Linked DNA regions of Homo sapiens: regions 1, 3 and 4 are each linked to region 2. Evidence: promoter capture Hi-C in 16 types of primary human blood cells and fetal thymus (Javierre and others, 2016). All regions are on one chromosome and are shown on one strand. Each heading gives the region's core, a stretch centred on a gene start or on the middle of the fragment in contact. The rest is flanking DNA. Distances are from core to core; before and after follow the strand shown.

Region 1 (4,095 bases), core at 1,590-4,089, 680 kb after region 2:
GAAAACAGAGAATGAAAAGCTGAATTTTGCAATAGAACAAGTGGATTCCCTATCCCCATTTCATGTCAGTGGATGCCCACCTGACCTTGACTAACAGTTTGAATTTGATTAGCTACTGATTTTGTGAGGCCAAGTGAATCCCATAAAATGTTCAATTAGAAAATTATCCATGCTACTTTTATTACCTACAGTGCAGAGACTGATATTTGCATAACCTCGTTTTAAAGTTGCTAGTACTCTCTTTCAGGTTTAATTTCCAACATTACTGATTTTCAGAGGAAATCTTTATATTGTGTGATTTCCCCCCCCCACTTCCAATTTGAAGCATACTTAAACCTATATAAGGTTATTTTTACCAACCCTTGACTTTTTATGTTAATCATTTCTCTTGATTTTTCTTCACACTGGAAATGGTCCTTACCACTCATTGATTACACTTGAGTGAAAGGCTTGAGTAGGATTTCTGAGGAAACTGCCCCAGCTCTAGCTCTGCAGGTGTAGGAGATTTTGCTGTTTAGCTAAAAATTGTCTGAAAATGAAATTTTCATGCACACACACAAGTTTTACAATATGATCTTACGTTTCCATGATCTGAAACTCTCTACCCTTGTGGCTCACTGAATGTTAAGAGGATGATGATGTTGTTGAAAGCTAGCAGTTATCGGCCAGGTATTAAGCTAAGTCCTTGAGTGGAATATATCATTAAATCCCAGAGCAGTCCTATGGGGGAAGGAATATTATTGTCATGCCCATTTTGCAGATGAGGAAACCAAGGCCCGGTGCTTACTCACAGTCACAGAGGTGGTCTGTTCTGTAGGTCCCCAGGGAGCTGGTAGGAGCTGAACCTCTTACTCTCCACCCCGGCAACTTTTCTCTCATTCTTTCCTCATCAGTGCCTCCAGGACCCTTAACTTCTCCACATTTTCCCCACCAGAAATTTCCCTTGTGCTGAAATTCATGATCTCTTTGAATTCCTCCAGCACTCCTTGTACTCACTCCAGTAGGCACCTTGAAATCATCTTTCATCCCTTCCTTTCCCTTTCTCTTTGCTTCTGACCCTCCCTCCACCTTTTTCCCCGGGTTCCTTTCCCTAGTCTCCCTTCTCCCCCTCTCTGCTTCCTCTGCCTCCTCCTCTCTGCTTCCTCTGCCTCCTCCTCCTTCTCATTTTCCATTCCCTAAGGAATGATGTCCTAAAGCAAGTAAATTCTTTTGGTTTTTGTTTTCCTGAAAATACTATACTTTTTAAAGCTTAAGAGGTTGAAAAATGTAAAAACTAATAAATTAAAGGTCAGAAAACCATGTGTTTGTTTTTCCGGTCTCTGTTGATTAACTTACCTTTGAGCAAGTTTTAGTCTCTCTGCATCCTGTCTTTTTTGACTATGAAACAAACAAGTAAAAATGAATCTATATAATCTACTGTATTTTGTGCATGTAAGAGATTACCCCCTAGCCAGTATCACAGGGAGTCTGGAATCCAGCTTCTTCCACTGGGGGCCGGATGTGATCCGTCGGTACAGCTGTTATCATTTCACCCCAAAATACAGGGAACTTACCACCTTGACTGTAGGTTTTTTTTTGTTTTTTCTTTTTTGTTTTGTTTTAGGTTTTTTTTTTGGTAATGATTCTACCATTATCTGGGTATCCTTTACCTGCTGGGCACTGTGCTAGGCTCTTGGGGTACCACAGGAAAGGAACACATCAGGCCTACATTTCAGTCAGGGAGGCCAGCAGTACACAAGTAATTTTAAAATGGTAATTGCAGAATTGTTACAGTATAGGTAAACTTCAAACAGCACAATGTGGAAAGAGGGCCATGGCCCCGGGGTTAGGAAGGGGCCTAGAGAATGATACAGGGCTTGTTAAGGAAGGGCTCTCTGAAAAAGTGACATCTGAGCTGCTGAGAATAAACCAGTCCTGGCAAGCGCAGGGATTTTTTTTTGTTTGCTGTGGCACTAGAGCATTCAGCATCCTTATTATTTAGTTAAGAAAATCAACAACATGGTATCTCTAATTACTTTGGGATTGTATCCCTTGTCATTGACAGATATGTAAATACGCTGATTTCCAGGCTAAACAGAAACATTTGGTAGCTGCAAAAGTCATTTATTATGAATATCCTAACTCCTTGACCATCATTTCTATTTTATTAGGAGACAAGTCAGCCATGCAAAAGAGAGTTGTTTTTTGCTGATGGCAGGTAGTTAATTATGAGTAGGGCATTCTAGCATTTGAAACAAGGTAGCATGTATGGAAGTGAAGTATTGTGATTGAACAGATAGGTCAATAAAGGCTCTGTGTCACTTGGGAGGAAATTACATTTGATTTCCCCAGACTTTGATTGACTGCCTCAAAATCGGTAGCAAAAACATGCATGCTCTTTGTGGAAGTGCTGGGGTAGCACTCACTATTCTCTTTGCAGTCATGCTGTTCTCTTTGAGAGAGCATAATGTCACCGCGGCTGCAACATCAAAGAGAATTCTGAAAGTCTCAAAATGAAACCTGCTAAGGTGCATCAATATGATGTAATCAATTCGGTTTCACATATTTCCTAGCATTTTGCGGGGGGCATTTTTCTTATTTTGCTATAGATGCAAACACATTTTTTTCCCTGTGGCTAGGCTTTACTTTAATTATGTTAATTTTAAAACCTTCATTTTAAGCATAAGCCTACAATTAATTGGTTGTCTCCCTTAATTGTGAAAAACTTCTTAAATAATATTTCTTTAAAAGAAGAACATTCTCTTGGCTAGTTTTGTCAACCTGGAGTTCAGCCAGAGTTTAGGGGCACATATACTAGCGTCCTGTAGCTGTGGGGCTGTGGCGGGATGATCCTTGTTCTGGACTCAGAAATTGACCAATTTAGCAAACACACTCCACTTCTTGGATCATTACCTTTGTTGAGAAACTGGCTGGAACAAGAGTCAGGAATTCTGTTTACAGCATTCCAAATCTGGCTGTGATAACCAGGAGACCTGTTTATCATAACGGCCAGTGTTCCACCTGTTCAGACTTCCTGCAGCCGGCAAGGCTTAAAAATGCCAGCTCTGAGTTGCTGCTGCGTACACACCGCCCCTGACCACTTGCAGAGTGTCTGCCGCCAATATGTCTTCCTTGGTGTGACAAAACTCACGGAGACATGAAAAGTCATGCTGGTGGGAATGGTTGTAATCACTGTTAACAAACAAGGTTCTTATTGCCAATATCACCATCTGTTCCATCGGGTTCCACATATTACCCTGTATGTGGGCTCTGTTAAACAGATTTCTGTTCTGCCCAAGGTCACCCTTGATTCATGTTACTAGACTTTGCAGTTGGGTTGAATGTGAACCTCAAATTGAAGCAAGGATTCAACTCTGAAAGGTACCAAATGGTGTCAACTGGTGCACACTAAAATAAACAGAGTCAACAATGTCTGCAAAGACAAAATAGAGACATCCCTTGATAAAAGAGAAGAATATATTCCCAAGAAGTTGTCTAAAGTGTAAAATTTTATTTCTTGAATACCATCTAAAAATTACCTCACTGTATAATTGGAGAAGCATGAGGGCAGGGAGGAAATGAACCAATTTCAAGAGCAGCTGTAAGTGATAAAACTGGAAATCGCAGTGTTGCTGGATCCTATCCCTTCTTGCAAACTTAAAGCTGAGCTAAGCACTTTCCCCCTCCCTTCTTCTTGATACCTGCAGCGAATTTCTGCTCACTCACCTTGAGTTGATTCGAGTCAATTAAAATACATTGATCTTCTCAGCACCGGAAATATAAATAAGACTCAAATATTACCTCTAAGAGGTAAGTACCAGGTACAGACATAGCACAGCAGAGGGAGTGATTAACAAGGAGGGCCGTGATGGTCACAGATGACTTTGCAGAGGAAGGGACAGGTAAGCAGAGAGTGAAGAATGAGCTAGTGTTCTCCAGCCACAAGTGCCAGAGGGATAGGGAAGGGTGTTTGGGACAAAGGGACCACAAGTGCAAAGACACAGACATGAAATCGCACAATATTTTTAGTGAGCCATAGACGCTATTTGTGTTTGAATTTTTCCTCAGTGATGTTCTTAGCATCCTTTCTGTAAGTGCTCTTTTATTGTGGGGCTT
Region 2 (4,636 bases), core at 1,407-3,906:
CTTATACAATCTGAAAAAGAAAATATTGTAATTCATAACACTAACAAATGCAGCAATGAGGCCTGTGGGAAAAGCTGACCACATAGATCCGGTAAAAGCCCTAGCCTATTTAATTGTAATCACAATAAAGGGACCAATATTAAATTTGTTTCTAAAAATATTAACCAGTTCAAAGGATATCAAATGTACTTGAAACTCTAAAACATTGTTTAAAAAGGTAACTTCTAGTTCTTCAAATGATTTCTAGATTCTCAAAAAGAAAAATAAATTTATCAGCATTGTCTACCTAATATTTGCAGTTTAGGAGGCAAGATATATTGTTAATGTGAAGATGGTTGCATCTGTATTTTGTTGTTTTCAGCTGCACATAATTGTTCTTTTAAAAGGCTTTTGGGAAGCCAAATTTAGTTTACTGGCTTTGAGCATGCAGAATTTTTTAAAGTTTAGTCAAAGTTCCAATGCTGTTTTGAGTAAAGCAAAATTTTAAACAGTATTTTCATACTTTCAGAATATGTTCATATGTAGTTTTTCTAACATAAAATGCATTGATCTTTATGGCTGTAACCAAGAGAGTCTACATCTGGGTAGTCATGCCTTTTGATGATCATACTTCCATGTATTTCAATGACTTGTCAAAGACACACGTTTGAAACACTCGATCCTGTGCCTCCTTCAAAGGAAGTTTAAATAAATATACCTGTAGTAGGAAAATTCCGTTTTTCTAGCATTAGAACACATTATGGTGAAAATTTTTGTGAGCTTAAAATGTGCCCATCACTTAGGCCTAACACATGAATATACTTAGGCCTAAGAGGAGGAAACATTCTAAGAGAAAGTACTTATACATGGGCAACAAAGTAATATGACAGCTATTATGGAAACAATCCTTCTGAATTTCCTAACTTTCATGCCCACAAATTGACAACCACTTGTGTTTATTTTTCTTTTAAAATAATATTTTAAAATCTATGTCCATGATTAATACTCTCTTTTTTGACACTAAATTGAGTATTAGAGTTATCAACTCAAATTCTATTAGAGTATTAATAATCAACGTTACACTAGGTCATAAAATACATGTGTAATAAACATAATAAGCTTGGGTGTTGTTAATATTGTTGAACATTTACACAACTCTGTCCTGACTATTCTCTATGTAATCAGGTATCATGAAGTTTTTCAACTGACATTTTACTACTAATGAGAAACAAATTAGGAAGATGAGTGATGGGAAGAAAAGATGAACATGATTAATAGGTGCTTGTTTCATAAAGACTCTAGGGAGACTTTTAAATCCTTCACTGCTACTATATTCTCACCGAGTGAGGAGCCACTGCACGTGCCTTTTAAAGCTTTCAAAGGAGGGCTGAGTAGTTACTCAATCTGTTACTGATGCTTACTCCATTTGCATCCTGTTGTGAAATGAGGTACACTTTATGTATTGGTGCCAAGGTAAATGTCAACTGTATCCATCAAAAATTTTTAAAACAGACATCTAAGTTAGAAAAAGAAAATAATGTTTCACTTTGGGTCTAATGTTGCAAATAATCGCTCCTGAAGACTAAAACATCTTTGTTGTTCCGCATCCCTTCCCTCCACCCTTCAAGAACTTGCATTTTTTAACTTTTCAAGTGCTTTTGATTAAAAATACCTAATCTACTTTGCTTCACGGGTTTTTTAAAGAATCATTCTTGTTCTCTAAACCAACTTCGTAGAAATAGAGAGGAAGTTAAACTTTATACAGTATTTGAATCTTTAAAGGTATGAGCATCCTAAACAGTAACTCACTTCTAATAAAGATCTTGCCATTCCTAACTGTACTTTACTAAGGTAGCTGTTTAATAAAAACGTATTTATGCAGATTCTATAGAGCAACTAAAACGGGACCCATAGATGTGGTGAGTAGCACAAAATGTGTATGGCAGTTGGCTTTATTTGCAGCGGCATATAAAATTGTTAATAATCCTGTCAAATCTGTTCATGAATAATTTATTAATCCGATTGCTGGAGTGCAGTGCATACAGGAACTCTATGTATGCGTGCATGTGTACACACCCCCCATGCAGGAAGGACACTACTGCCGTATTCCAGAAATGACAAAAAAAAAAAAGTAAAAATAAGCAAGAATCACATAATTAGATGTCTTACAGTCTCATAAAAGGGCAGTGCTGCGAGGTTAAGCTGGTGAGCTAAAAAACAAACAAAACAAACAAAAAACCACAAAAGCAAAATCCAGTTGCCTGAGATCGGAGCTTCCCGCAGGATTCGCGCAGAGCGAGGAGCGGGGAGGACGCCGTTTGCGGGAGGCGGGGGCCGGGATCCCGACACCGTCCGCAGTCTCCCCGGGGTCTCTCAGGGAACCGAGCTGGTGGCCGTCCGAGGTAAGCGCCGAACCAAGGAGAAAGCGCCGAGCGCGTCCACAAAACGCCCGAGGCCGCCCTTCTCGCCAAGGCTCGGCAGCTCCCGCGGCCTGCGCTGGACAAGCGAGAGCTGGACGGAAACGGTGGGAGGCCGTAGGCGGCGGCTGGGGGCGCGGGACCCGCGCGCGGGCGCGGAGGCGGGCGGGGAGGCCCCGCAGCCCGCGCCGCCGCCAGCCGCCCCGAGCCGCGTGCGCGCGCGGCCGCATCAGCTGAGCGCGCGGCGCGTGTCACGTGGTGTGCGTGTCGAAGGTCACGGCGCGCTCACAATGGAGCTCTCGGAGTCTGTGCAGAAAGGCTTCCAGATGCTGGCGGATCCCCGCTCCTTCGACTCCAACGCCTTCACGCTTCTCCTCCGGGCGGCATTCCAGAGTCTGCTGGACGCCCAGGCGGACGAGGCCGTGTTAGGTAAGCCGCTCGGCTCGGCTCGGAGCTGGATCCGCCGGGGTGGAGGGGCGCTCGGAGAAGAGGAGCCGGCGGAGCGAGAAGGGGAAAGCCCCGGGAAGAGGAAGTCTCCGGGCTTTGCCCTTCGCTCCGGACGGAGTGTTGGGGACGTGGCTCTGCCAGGACTCGGAGCAGACTCTGAGCATTGTTTTGGCCCCACTTGGCACCTGCATAGAGCCAACTCCACGTTCCTGGCCCGGTTTCCCTCCCAGTCTCTTTGTTCTTTTGTAAAGCCGGTGTTCAAGTCTTGTTTGTGGCCTAAACATCTAAGGTGTTTAGCCTTGTCTGAGGCTGCGGCTGTTTTGACAGTTGGACTTCATCTGGGGAGCTCCCTGCAATTCAAGCTTCCAGGGCTAGGCTAGCAAAGGTTTAAGGGTCTGTTTCCGAAGTAATTACTAGGTCAGACAGTGTTGACATTTGCCAACTTAGAGCATACCTCAAGTTGCTATGATCACTCCAGCGCTCTAGTTCAGCATGTTTACACAGGTTCTACGCCTAGAACCTTAAACTATGATGCACAATACTTTGTTCCGCCCCAGTTACCAGGATGCGAGTGTCTTTTAAGCGATCCGGTCAGTGACTGCGGAGGTGCAGTGTCAGTATGGATTGAAGACATATTTTAAGACCGATCGCTTTTAGATGATTTTCTTAAATATAAATATCCCAACAATTCAAATTTTTGTTTTTTTTCTGTAGTTTCATGAACTAAACACTTGTACAAAAAGTATGAAAGTGGAAGTTCTTAAACGAAAATAGTAACCACCACCTGGGTTAATCTCAAAAAAAAAATGACTGTCAAACCCTGAAAGTACTAATATAATTTTGAAATTTGTATCTTATATTCTGAACTCATGCCCTACCTTCTACCCCCTTGATGTATTTGTTCATGGAGCCGGTTACCCTAAACTCATCATTTTTAGGATGGAAGTTTATTCTAAAATTGACACAATGTAAAATATTTATCTTGTTTTTCCTTTGAATTTACTCCAGTGTTAGAATGACCATTGCATTGTTATATTTTCTTTGGGGGCTATAATATTTTTTAATAGTAAAAATATTAAGGCAAAATAAGTTAATTGAAGCTAGTAATAGTAGAGTTCTTGTTGTGTTCTTTTTATTGTTTTTCACTTGATCTTGTTGCTCATCTCATTTACTTATAATTGACTGTCCTTATAGTTGATGTTTTTAATCTTGTTAAAGGGTTTTTAAACCCAAATTAAAATATCCTTTTTGGAACATGACTGTAAAGAATTTATTATCATAGGCATCACTGGAAGTTAATTTATTTTAGATCATCCAGACTTGAAACATATCGACCCAGTGGTTTTAAAACATTGTCATGCAGCAGCTGCAACTTACATACTAGAGGCAGGAAAGCACCGAGCTGACAAGTCAACTCTAAGGTACAGGATTTATTTAAATATCCATTTATTTTCAAATACTACCTTAATGATTTCAATTTCAGTTTTAAAAATGGAGACAGAACTTTGGCTTTTTTTTTCTTTCTTCTAGCACTTATCTAGAAGACTGTAAATTTGACAGAGAGCGAATAGAACTGTTTTGCACGGAATATCAGGTTACTTACTTTAAAATTTTTAATTAACAGTACTATTTTTCTTTTACTTTGTTTGTAAAGATGTTTTTTTTTCTTTCTTTCTTGCTTTCTTTTTTCTCTCCAGAATAATAAGAATTCCCTAGAAATCCTACTGGGAAGGTAGGTACTGTATAAGGTGTCAAGCTGAGGCACTTTTCACTTGCAGGTATGAATGGAGAGT
Region 3 (4,372 bases), core at 154-2,653, 770 kb after region 2:
TGTTTACTGTTATGTGTATTACAATACTCTCGTATTTTTATCATTTTAATTTTTCTAATTTGAGAGTAATCATTTTTTGTTCTTCATCTTGTGGTATGTATGTATGTACTTAAATTTCATTCACTTGAACCTGTCAACCTTATCATTTGTTCAGTGCTAACTCCTTTTATTGCTTTTATTGTCCAAAAATTATTTTTATTTCAAAATGGATGTATGCAGTATTGTTTTATTTCGTGTGTGTGTGTGTGTGTGTGTTTGTGTATGTGTGGTAGGGAAGTTTAAACTTTCCCTCTGAAGTGAGACTGCTGAAATAAACTGACAATAGAGTAGCAGAAGAAAAAGCATACAAATGTATTAAAGTGCACATGGTCACAAGACCCCCACAAATATGAGACTCAAAGAAAGGCCAAATTGTTGAAACTTATATATCTTCTTCATAGGGAAGAGGGCGATGGCGGAAACTTAGGCAATTTTGAGGGATTGTAAATAATTTTCAGGAAAATTGAATAGGCCCAAAGAGCAGACAGTAGTTTTTGAATTATTCTTTTCGGAAGAAGAATGGGACCCACAGTTATGGGAAGGTGAGGGGCAGAACTGTACTGTGAACAAAGGTTGTCCTATTATGCATTTAATTTTTATTTAAATAGTAAATATTTAAATAATCTTAAATAAATCTTAAATAATAAAGTAATCTCTCAGAGGTGCCATCAGAAGAACAGATAAAAAGTGTTTCAGGGCATAGTGATGACTTTTAGTCTTTCCTCTTCTCCAGTAGTTAATCTTTCCTGGTTATCTGATAAGATTCCTAGTAAAGAGATCTTAAGACAACTGCACTTCTTTTGGAAGACTCAGTGGGAGAAAGCCCTTCTCTTCACTTGTGGGGAAGAAATAAAAAGTTAGAAAGTCGTTGTTTCTGAGGCAGCTTCTAAAGCTTTCCAATTTCATTTAATTCAAAAATGCTCAGCATACCAGAGCACCATACTTGGGGGGTATTGTACTCTGAGCTCTGACATGATACACATATCCACATACTACTTTTAACTCAAAAAATAATTCTTTTGAAGTGAATTATTCATCTAAGCCTTAGACGCCAAGGTTACTTCCCCTGTATTGATAGTCACTTTCCCACAAAAAATATACTGAATAATTTTATATCCCCTTGTTTCTAATAGGTTAAATATGTATTAATTTCTGGAACCTCTTATCTCTCTGGACTATTTTTTGGTTATTATTTCAATCAGAACACTGTTTTCATATCTACTCTTCCTTGATAAGCACTTTTAACATGTGAGAGGCTACTTCTCCAATATTATCTTTAACATAAAAGTCTATTTTTATCCACATTTATTTCAGTTGTTATTTTTTCAATTCCTGTAAAGTAATCCATTGGGATTATAAGTGACATAGCTTAAATCTATAAGTTGAATGTATTTTAACCTTCGTAATTTCAGCTCTTTGGTCAGCAAGTGTATCTTTCCATTTTTCACCACCCGTCATATAATTACAGACTGAAGAGAGTTGAGATATAATTTGAGTTCTAGTTCTAGGCCACCCTCCCCTGTATTCGTGTCATTTTCCAGATAATCAAACCAAGGCCCAGAGACTGGTTTGTCCAAAACATCTGTATCTGCTTAGGAGAACACCTAGAAATTGAACCCAGAGCTTATCCCATGCTATTTTTTTCTATCGAACCATTTATTTAAGTCTTCATTCACTGCCTTTAGAGCTTTAAAACTATATTTTATATATATTAGATGTTCCAGTTGGTTAGTTTCTAGGAATTCTCTAGATTGAGGTAAAACAAAAATGAGTATCGACATTGAACTTTGGGCAGATGGAAGCAGATAAAGTATTTTCAGTGCAGATTAATTGTGTAAAGCTTATTCCAGTCCCTCATTCTTTCCCAAATGGTTTTTGGTAGGGAAAAGCAAATTGGCTTTTGCACTTATCTCCCATTTTTTGGTCATTCTATCCTATCTTTTAGGGATTTTATTATCAAATTTATAGTTTGCAGAGAAGTGTGTTGGATATACAAAGAGTCAAAGTTATAGAATTTTGCCTTTCCTGAAGATTCTCACAATCAAATTCAGGACATCAGATATACACTGTGTCAACTTCATGAAACAGAAAATCCCAGTAACAGTGATTTAAACAAAATATAGATTTATTGGTCTCTCATGTAATTGGAAATCTGAAGGCAGGCAATCCAAGACTAGCATATTGACTCCACACTGTCTTCAGAATCCTGGGCTCCTTCATGTCTTCTACTTCTTTAAAATCAAGATGTGGGTCTCATCTTCATGTATACCAGAAGATTGCCAGTGCTCCAGCCATCATGACTAATTTCCAAGCAGAAACAAAAGACAGAGCAAAAGTCCAGTGCTGAGCCAGCTCCTCTTTAACTAGTTTTCCTGGTAGCTCCCAGTGATGTCTGCTCCTATCATTGCCCATAACAGCATCATATGATTGCCACCAACTACAAGGGAGCTGACAGATGTAACATTTTAGCTAGGCATATTGCTACTCTTAATAAAATCAAAGATCTGTTTGTAAGTAGAGAGAGTGGATATCGGCCAGGCAAATGATAGTCTCTACCACTCAGTGTACAAAGTAAAAGGGAAAACATAAAGTAGAGTTTTGTTCAGGCTAAGACCATGTGTCCAAGAATGTGAGGTTAATGCATGGCCTTGATGGTTAAGTTGGATTCAGATAAATGGTGGTGAGAAGAGGGGACATTTTAAGACCAGTAAGGGCTTGATCACAGATGAGGTAAAGGTCCTCCTAGCAGGTGTAAAGGAGAATGGTGGTAGGGAGGGAGGGACTTCCTCTGTGCTTAGAATGTCTTTCTGGGAGTGTGAGGATATGTAGAAATGCAAGGATAGATTGGTTATCAGCTCTGTTTACCAATTACCGTTGTCCTCATTAAATCTTCAATAACAACTAACGTTTATTAAAACCAAGTATGTACCAAAGGGTTTGCTAGGTGTTTTAACGTATGTTGTATCTAATCCTTACAATAACCCCATTTTGGGGATAAGAAAACTGATCTGTCACAGGTTGAATACTTGATCAAGCTCATGCGTCTTTTAAATTTAAGATATTCTGACTTGAATGTGTTTTACACCAGACTCCATGATTTTTTTCCCACAATGTCACAATGTTAAGTTAATTTATTAACTTTGCTTGGGATTGGGGGTGAAGGTGGGTGAGTTAAACCGGTATTCCTTGATATTTTCTAAATTCTAAACTTTAGGGGAACTTTACAAACTCTTCAACTAACTAGCAGTGTGATCATAGACAAGGTACTTATCCTCTCTGGATTTGAATTTGTTTACTTATTACTCAGATACAAAACCAGACAGATACTATAAGAGAGGAAGCTTTCAGTCCAACATCCTTCATCAACACAGACACAAAAATTCTAAAAAAATGTAATCCATGATACATAGAACATAATCCAACAATACATGAAACAAATAATAAAACTGACAAAGCAGGCTTTATTGAAGAAATACTAAGTTGGTTTAACGTTTGAAAATCAAGTAACAAACTACAAAAAGAAAATAGGAAAAAGGTATGATTATATCAGTAGCTGCAGAAAAGCATTTGACAAAAATCCAACATCCCTTCCTGATAAAAACTCTCAGTAGACTACAAATAGAAATTTCCTTAATCTGATAGAAAATTTATGAAAAACTTATAGCTAATATCATACTTAATGGTAAAAGGCTGAATACTTTTCCTCTAAGATCAGGAACAAGACAAGGATGTTCACTCTCAACATTTCTATTCAACACTGCGCAGGCTCTAACCAGTGCAATAAGGCAAGAAAAAGAAATCAAAGACATCTGTATTAAAAAGAAAGAGTAAAACTCTTTCTACACAGATGACATGATTTTTCTATGTAGAAAATCTGATAAAATCCATAAAATGTTACTAGAACTAAGAAATGAGTTTAGAAAGATTACAGAATACAAGATCAATATACAAAATCTACATACTAGCAATCAGAAATTGAAATTGATAAAACAATACCACAGCATCAAAAATATGAAATGCTTTAGGATGAATCTATCAAAAGATGTGCAAAACCTATACAGTGAAAACTACAAAACACTACTAGTAGGTGTTAAGGAAGACCTAAATAAATAGATAGGCATATCTTTATTCATGGGTCAAAAGATTCAATATTGTTATGATATTAATTTCCCCCAAACTTATGGATAGAATCAATGCAATCCCAATCAAAACTTAAGTAAGATCATGTGTAGAAATTGACAGACTGAATCTAAAATTTATGTTGAAATACAAAAGACCTAAAATAGCCCAAACAACCTTAAAAAAGAACAGAGGTACAGTACCAATGCTAGCT
Region 4 (4,469 bases), core at 646-3,145, 650 kb after region 2:
TATTTTTCAAAATACAATTCATTTCTACATTAAGTTTTAAGCCTTTGTTTCACTTGAATTTGGAATTATATAGAAGGTATGCATTGTTTGTGAACCTGAGAGCATTGAAGAAATCCACATTCACAATGATATCTATAAAGTAATTTTCAAGTTTCAGCTGGAGTCTAGTAGCACCATGTTACATAGCTGTGAAAAATATGCTCATACTATATACATAATACAATTTGCATTTCAGTGACAAGTTATGTTGATATAAATCTGTAAAATATGAGAGATTAATTACAGCACAAGCACAGATGAAATTATAGTTTTAATTTATGTATATTTGGAGTCTTTTATCTAATAAAAGATGTGATCTTATTTTTCCCCTTCTGCACCACTTTTAGAAATGATGACAGCATTGACTATTTTAAGTGATTTATATTCTAAACATATATACTCACATCTGTATATTGATATGTATACTATGGGAAACACTCCATTTTCAGCACACACTGGATTTCTTCAGGACAAAGCTTTAATGCAGTAAGCAAGATTTCACCATCCAGTATGTAGTGTGCATAGAGGGGCCTCATGAGTTACATTATAAATGCCTATTTGAGAGACTGGTTGTGAAATCAAGGTTTCTTCATATTGGCAAAAGTTGGTTTACCCAGTATTCTATCAAATGGAACTTAGACATTATTCTAGCTGGTCAGTTCTCTCTTCCTTCTATCCTAGTTCTTCTTAGCTAAGTGAGACCCGAAGAGAAGTAAAATGGGGAGACACGGACAATGCCAAACCTGAAATGTTTGCGTATCTCAGCATCTCTTTGGAGAGTATTTATATGTATCAAATGTGGCTGGGTCATTCTAAGACTGTTCTCACTCATTTTGAGGTGGTGAGTTTGATGATGCCTACCCATCATGTGCCACAGTACTGGAAAGTATGCTGCAGAGTTCCTGGTACTAGAGTTCTAGTACTAGTTCCACTACTGGCATTGTAACGACCTACTTAAGTGATTTTGAGTGAACTATAACTTCTCCAGAACAATGTATATATTCGTTTACTCATGATTTCTTACTGAGTTCTCACCCAGAACAGGAAAGTAAACAGGCACTTACAATGCAGTGTTCAAAGTGATTAATGATGGAAACACAGGATCACCCAGGAAGGCTCCCAGCACAGACCTGGATCAGAAAAATATTTCTGAAATCAGTGATTAACAAGCTAGGACCTAGAGTAAATAAGATAAATTGTCTGGTCAAAGAAGGTTCAGATGGGATGGAGGAGGAGAAGTGGTTCTGAGAAGGAACAGGGTGTATAAAAGCCAGAGGAGGGATAACATGGTAAGTTCCAGAACCGAAAGTTTTCAGAATGGCCAATGACCAGAAAGCCACAGAACACTGAGCGCTCAGGCTATGGACGTGGTGAGGAGCCCAGTGCTCATGGACATTATAAGCCCAGTTAAGGATTTTGGACTTTATTTTAATGGCAACAAAGAGCCATTGAAGTTACTCAGAAGGGAGGGAACATCATGGATTTTCACTTGTTAAAGAAAGAGAACTCGTGTTGCAAAGTGGAGAAGAGATTGGAAATGTTTAGGACCAGACACAGAAGACCAAAAGGGGGTTGCTGTAGTAATCTAGGTGAGATGTGAAGGTGCCCTGAAACAGAGATGCGGTGTTCAGGACTGGCTCAAGGCACTTTGCAAGGAGAACCACCAGCACATGTGTGAGTATTTTTGAATGACTATGTTGGTTGAAAGAGGAAGAAGGCGATACCAAGGATGAGGCCAGGTTTCTGGCTTAGACAGCTAGAAGTAAAATGGTGCCACTCACAGAACTGAAGAACTCAAGAAGGGGAGCGGTTTTGCTTGAAGAAAAGGAATCAATCCTATTCTTGCTTTTTAAATTGTGGTGAAATACAAATACTATGAAATTTACCGTCTTCATCATTTTTAAGTGTACATTTCAGTGGCATTAAATGTATTCACATTTTTGTGGTGCTGTCCATCCACAGAAATCTTTTCATTTAGCAAAACTAAAAGTATACCAATTAAACAATCATTCCCACTCCTTCCTCATACAAACTCCTGGCAACCACTATTCTTTGTCTCTATGAATTTGATGACTCTAGATCCCTCATATATATGGAATCATACAGCATTTGTCCTTTTGCAAATGCATAGCACTTGGCACGATGTCCTTAAGTTTCATTCATGTTGTAGCATGTGTCACAATTTCCTCCCTTCTTAGGGCCAAAGAATATCCATTGCCTGTATAGACCACATTTTGTTTATCCTTTCAACCATGGATGGACAGTTGGTTACATCTGCCTTTTGGTTAATGTGAATAATGTTGCTAAGAATGTGGGTATACAGATATCTCTTTGAGTCCCTGATTTCAATTATTTTGGATATATACCTAGAAGTGGAGTTACTGAATCATATGGTAATTATATTTTTAGTTTTTTTTTTTTTTTTTTTGAGACAGTCTCGCTCCATCACCCAGGCTGGAGTGCAGTGGTGTGATCTCAGCTCACTGCAACCTCCACCTCCTGGCTTCCAGCGATTCTCCTGCCTCAGCCTCCTGAGTAGCTGGGACTACAGGCACGCACCACCACACCCAGCTAATTTTTGTATTTGTAGTAGAGACATGATTTCACCATGTTAGCCAAGCTGGTCTTGAACTCCTGACCTCAGGCAATCTTCCCAACTCAGCCTCTCAAAGTGCTGGGATTACAGGTGTGAGCCACCATGCCCGTCCTCTATTTTTAATTTTTTTGAGAAACTGCCATATTGTTTTCTGTAGCAGCTGTACCATTTTACATTCCCATAACCAATGCACAAGAGTTCCAATTTCTCCACATCCTGGCCCACACTTGCTATTTTCTGTTTGTTGATAGTAGCCATCCTAATGGGCGTGAGGTGCTATCTCATTGTACTTTTTATTTGCATGCCCTAATGATTAGCAACTTCAAGCATCTTTATCGTGTACTTACTGGCCACTTGCATATCTTCTTTGGAGACATCTATTCAAGTCCTTCTCCCATTTTTTGATTGGGTTGTTTTCTTGATGCTAAGTTACAGAAGTTCTTTATATATTCTGGATATTAACCCCTTATCAGATATTATTTGAAAACAGTTTCTCCCATTCTGTGGTTTGCCTTTTTACTCTGTTGATTGTGTGCTTTGATGCAAAAAGTTTTAAATTGTGGTGCATTCCAATTTATCTATTTTGTTGGCTATGCTGTTTGCTGTTGGTGTCATATCCAATAACTCATTACCAAATATCAAAGCTTTTGCCCTATGTTTTCTTCTAGGAGTTTTGTAGCTGTAGCTCTTATATTTAGGTCTTGATCCATTTTGAGTTTATTTTTATATAGGGTATAAAATTATGGTCCCAGTTCGTTCTTTTTCATGTAGACATAAATTTTTCCTAGCATCATTTGTTGAAATTGGTTATTTGTAATAGAAAGGAATTCAAGCAGATAGTCTTTAAATCCTTTCTGGCACTTAATGTTTTCTGATTCTACTTCCTTTTGTTAGTTCTAAAATAACTACATTCCAGTTTCAAGTTGTGTCTCCTGTCTTTATGTTAGAATCTAATGACTAACTGTATTTACTTCATATATGTCATCTGTGATTGTATTATGTTCCCTTCAAACATCACTTTTTCAGACCGAAGAATTCAGATCTTGTTTAGTCTCTCTCCACGCATGTCCCCAGGCCATCCTGGGATCATTTTCTTACCTCTTCAGGACTTCCTCTTGTTTATTATACCCTCCTTGAAATGTGTTGATAAGTATTACGAAAGCTATTTTAAAAGTATGCACCATCATTTTATATTATCTATAGATAGGTTGATTTATCATTATTTTCCATTTCAGTCTTATGCAGCAAGTATTTTAGTCTCTTAACTACATTAGCATATTGGGCCAACCCTTTGAGGGAAGGACCTGCAGGGAGCCCCCAGATCATCTTTCTCAGTCAGTACCCAGAGCTCAAAGTTCCTCATTTTAATTTGTAACATTTTGGGGCTGGGCACAGTGGCTCACACCTGTAATCCTAGCACTTTGGGAGGTTGAGGTGGGAAGATCACTTGACACCAGGAGTTCAAGACCAGCCTGGTCAACAGAGCAAGACCCCCCATCTCTACATAAAATTTTTTTTAAATGAGCCATGCGTGATGTTGTGCACCTGTAGTCCCAGCTACTTGGGAGGCTGAGGAAGGAAGATCACTTGAGCCCAGGAGTTTGAGGCTGCAGTGAGATGTGATCATCCCAGTGCACTCCAGCCTGGGTAACTGAGCAAGACCCTTAATAATAATAATAATAATAATAATAATAATAATAATAATAAATCCTAACATCTTTGATTTATAGTTAAAAATGCAAACTTTGCTTTGGACTAGTATTGCATATTCTTTGAGGCCTGGTATAGGATCTATTTGTACAAGTGTTCTATTAAATCTTGGAAAGGCATACTC

The links. Contacts are between HindIII fragments. The CHiCAGO score rates a contact against its expected background, and 5 or more counts as called.
Region 1: a fragment that was not itself captured here is called in contact with the fragment with the promoter of COMMD3 in region 2 in 9 of 17 cell types (fetal thymus, activated CD4 T cells, non-activated CD4 T cells and 6 more); the score reaches 11.0 in fetal thymus.
Region 3: a contact is called between a fragment that was not itself captured here and the fragment with the promoter of COMMD3 in region 2, in 1 of 17 cell types (activated CD4 T cells). The highest score is 5.5, in activated CD4 T cells.
Region 4: a fragment that was not itself captured here is called in contact with the fragment with the promoter of COMMD3 in region 2 in 2 of 17 cell types (M1 macrophages and M2 macrophages); the score reaches 5.8 in M1 macrophages.

What each region holds. Positions count from the first base shown.
Region 1 is chr10:22,989,865-22,993,959 of GRCh38, forward strand. All of the region lies in intron 10 of ARMC3 (armadillo repeat containing 3), which reads left to right. Among named protein-coding and RNA genes, the nearest start is that of ARMC3, 64 kb to the left of the region's middle. The HindIII fragment of the contact is 3,186 bases long and covers 1,247-4,095 here.
Region 2 is chr10:22,313,732-22,318,367 of GRCh38, forward strand. COMMD3 (COMM domain containing 3) reads left to right here and starts at 2,657. Exons shown (of 8, transcript NM_012071.4): 1 at 2,657-2,825; 2 at 4,153-4,264; 3 at 4,374-4,437; 4 at 4,541-4,575. The coding sequence starts at 2,687. COMMD3-BMI1 (COMMD3-BMI1 readthrough) reads left to right here and starts at 2,657. Exons shown (of 14, transcript NM_001204062.2): 1 at 2,657-2,825; 2 at 4,153-4,264; 3 at 4,374-4,437; 4 at 4,541-4,575. The coding sequence starts at 2,687. RefSeq lists a silencer at 2,515-2,634 and an enhancer at 2,905-3,204. The HindIII fragment of the contact is 1,853 bases long and covers 1,351-3,203 here.
Region 3 is chr10:23,089,277-23,093,648 of GRCh38, forward strand. The region is part of intron 1 of LOC107984215 (a long non-coding RNA gene); the gene reads right to left. Among named protein-coding and RNA genes, the nearest start is that of MSRB2, 4.1 kb to the right of the region's middle. The HindIII fragment of the contact is 948 bases long and covers 930-1,877 here.
Region 4 is chr10:22,968,994-22,973,462 of GRCh38, forward strand. All of the region lies in intron 8 of ARMC3 (armadillo repeat containing 3), which reads left to right. Among named protein-coding and RNA genes, the nearest start is that of ARMC3, 43 kb to the left of the region's middle. The HindIII fragment of the contact is 2,764 bases long and covers 514-3,277 here.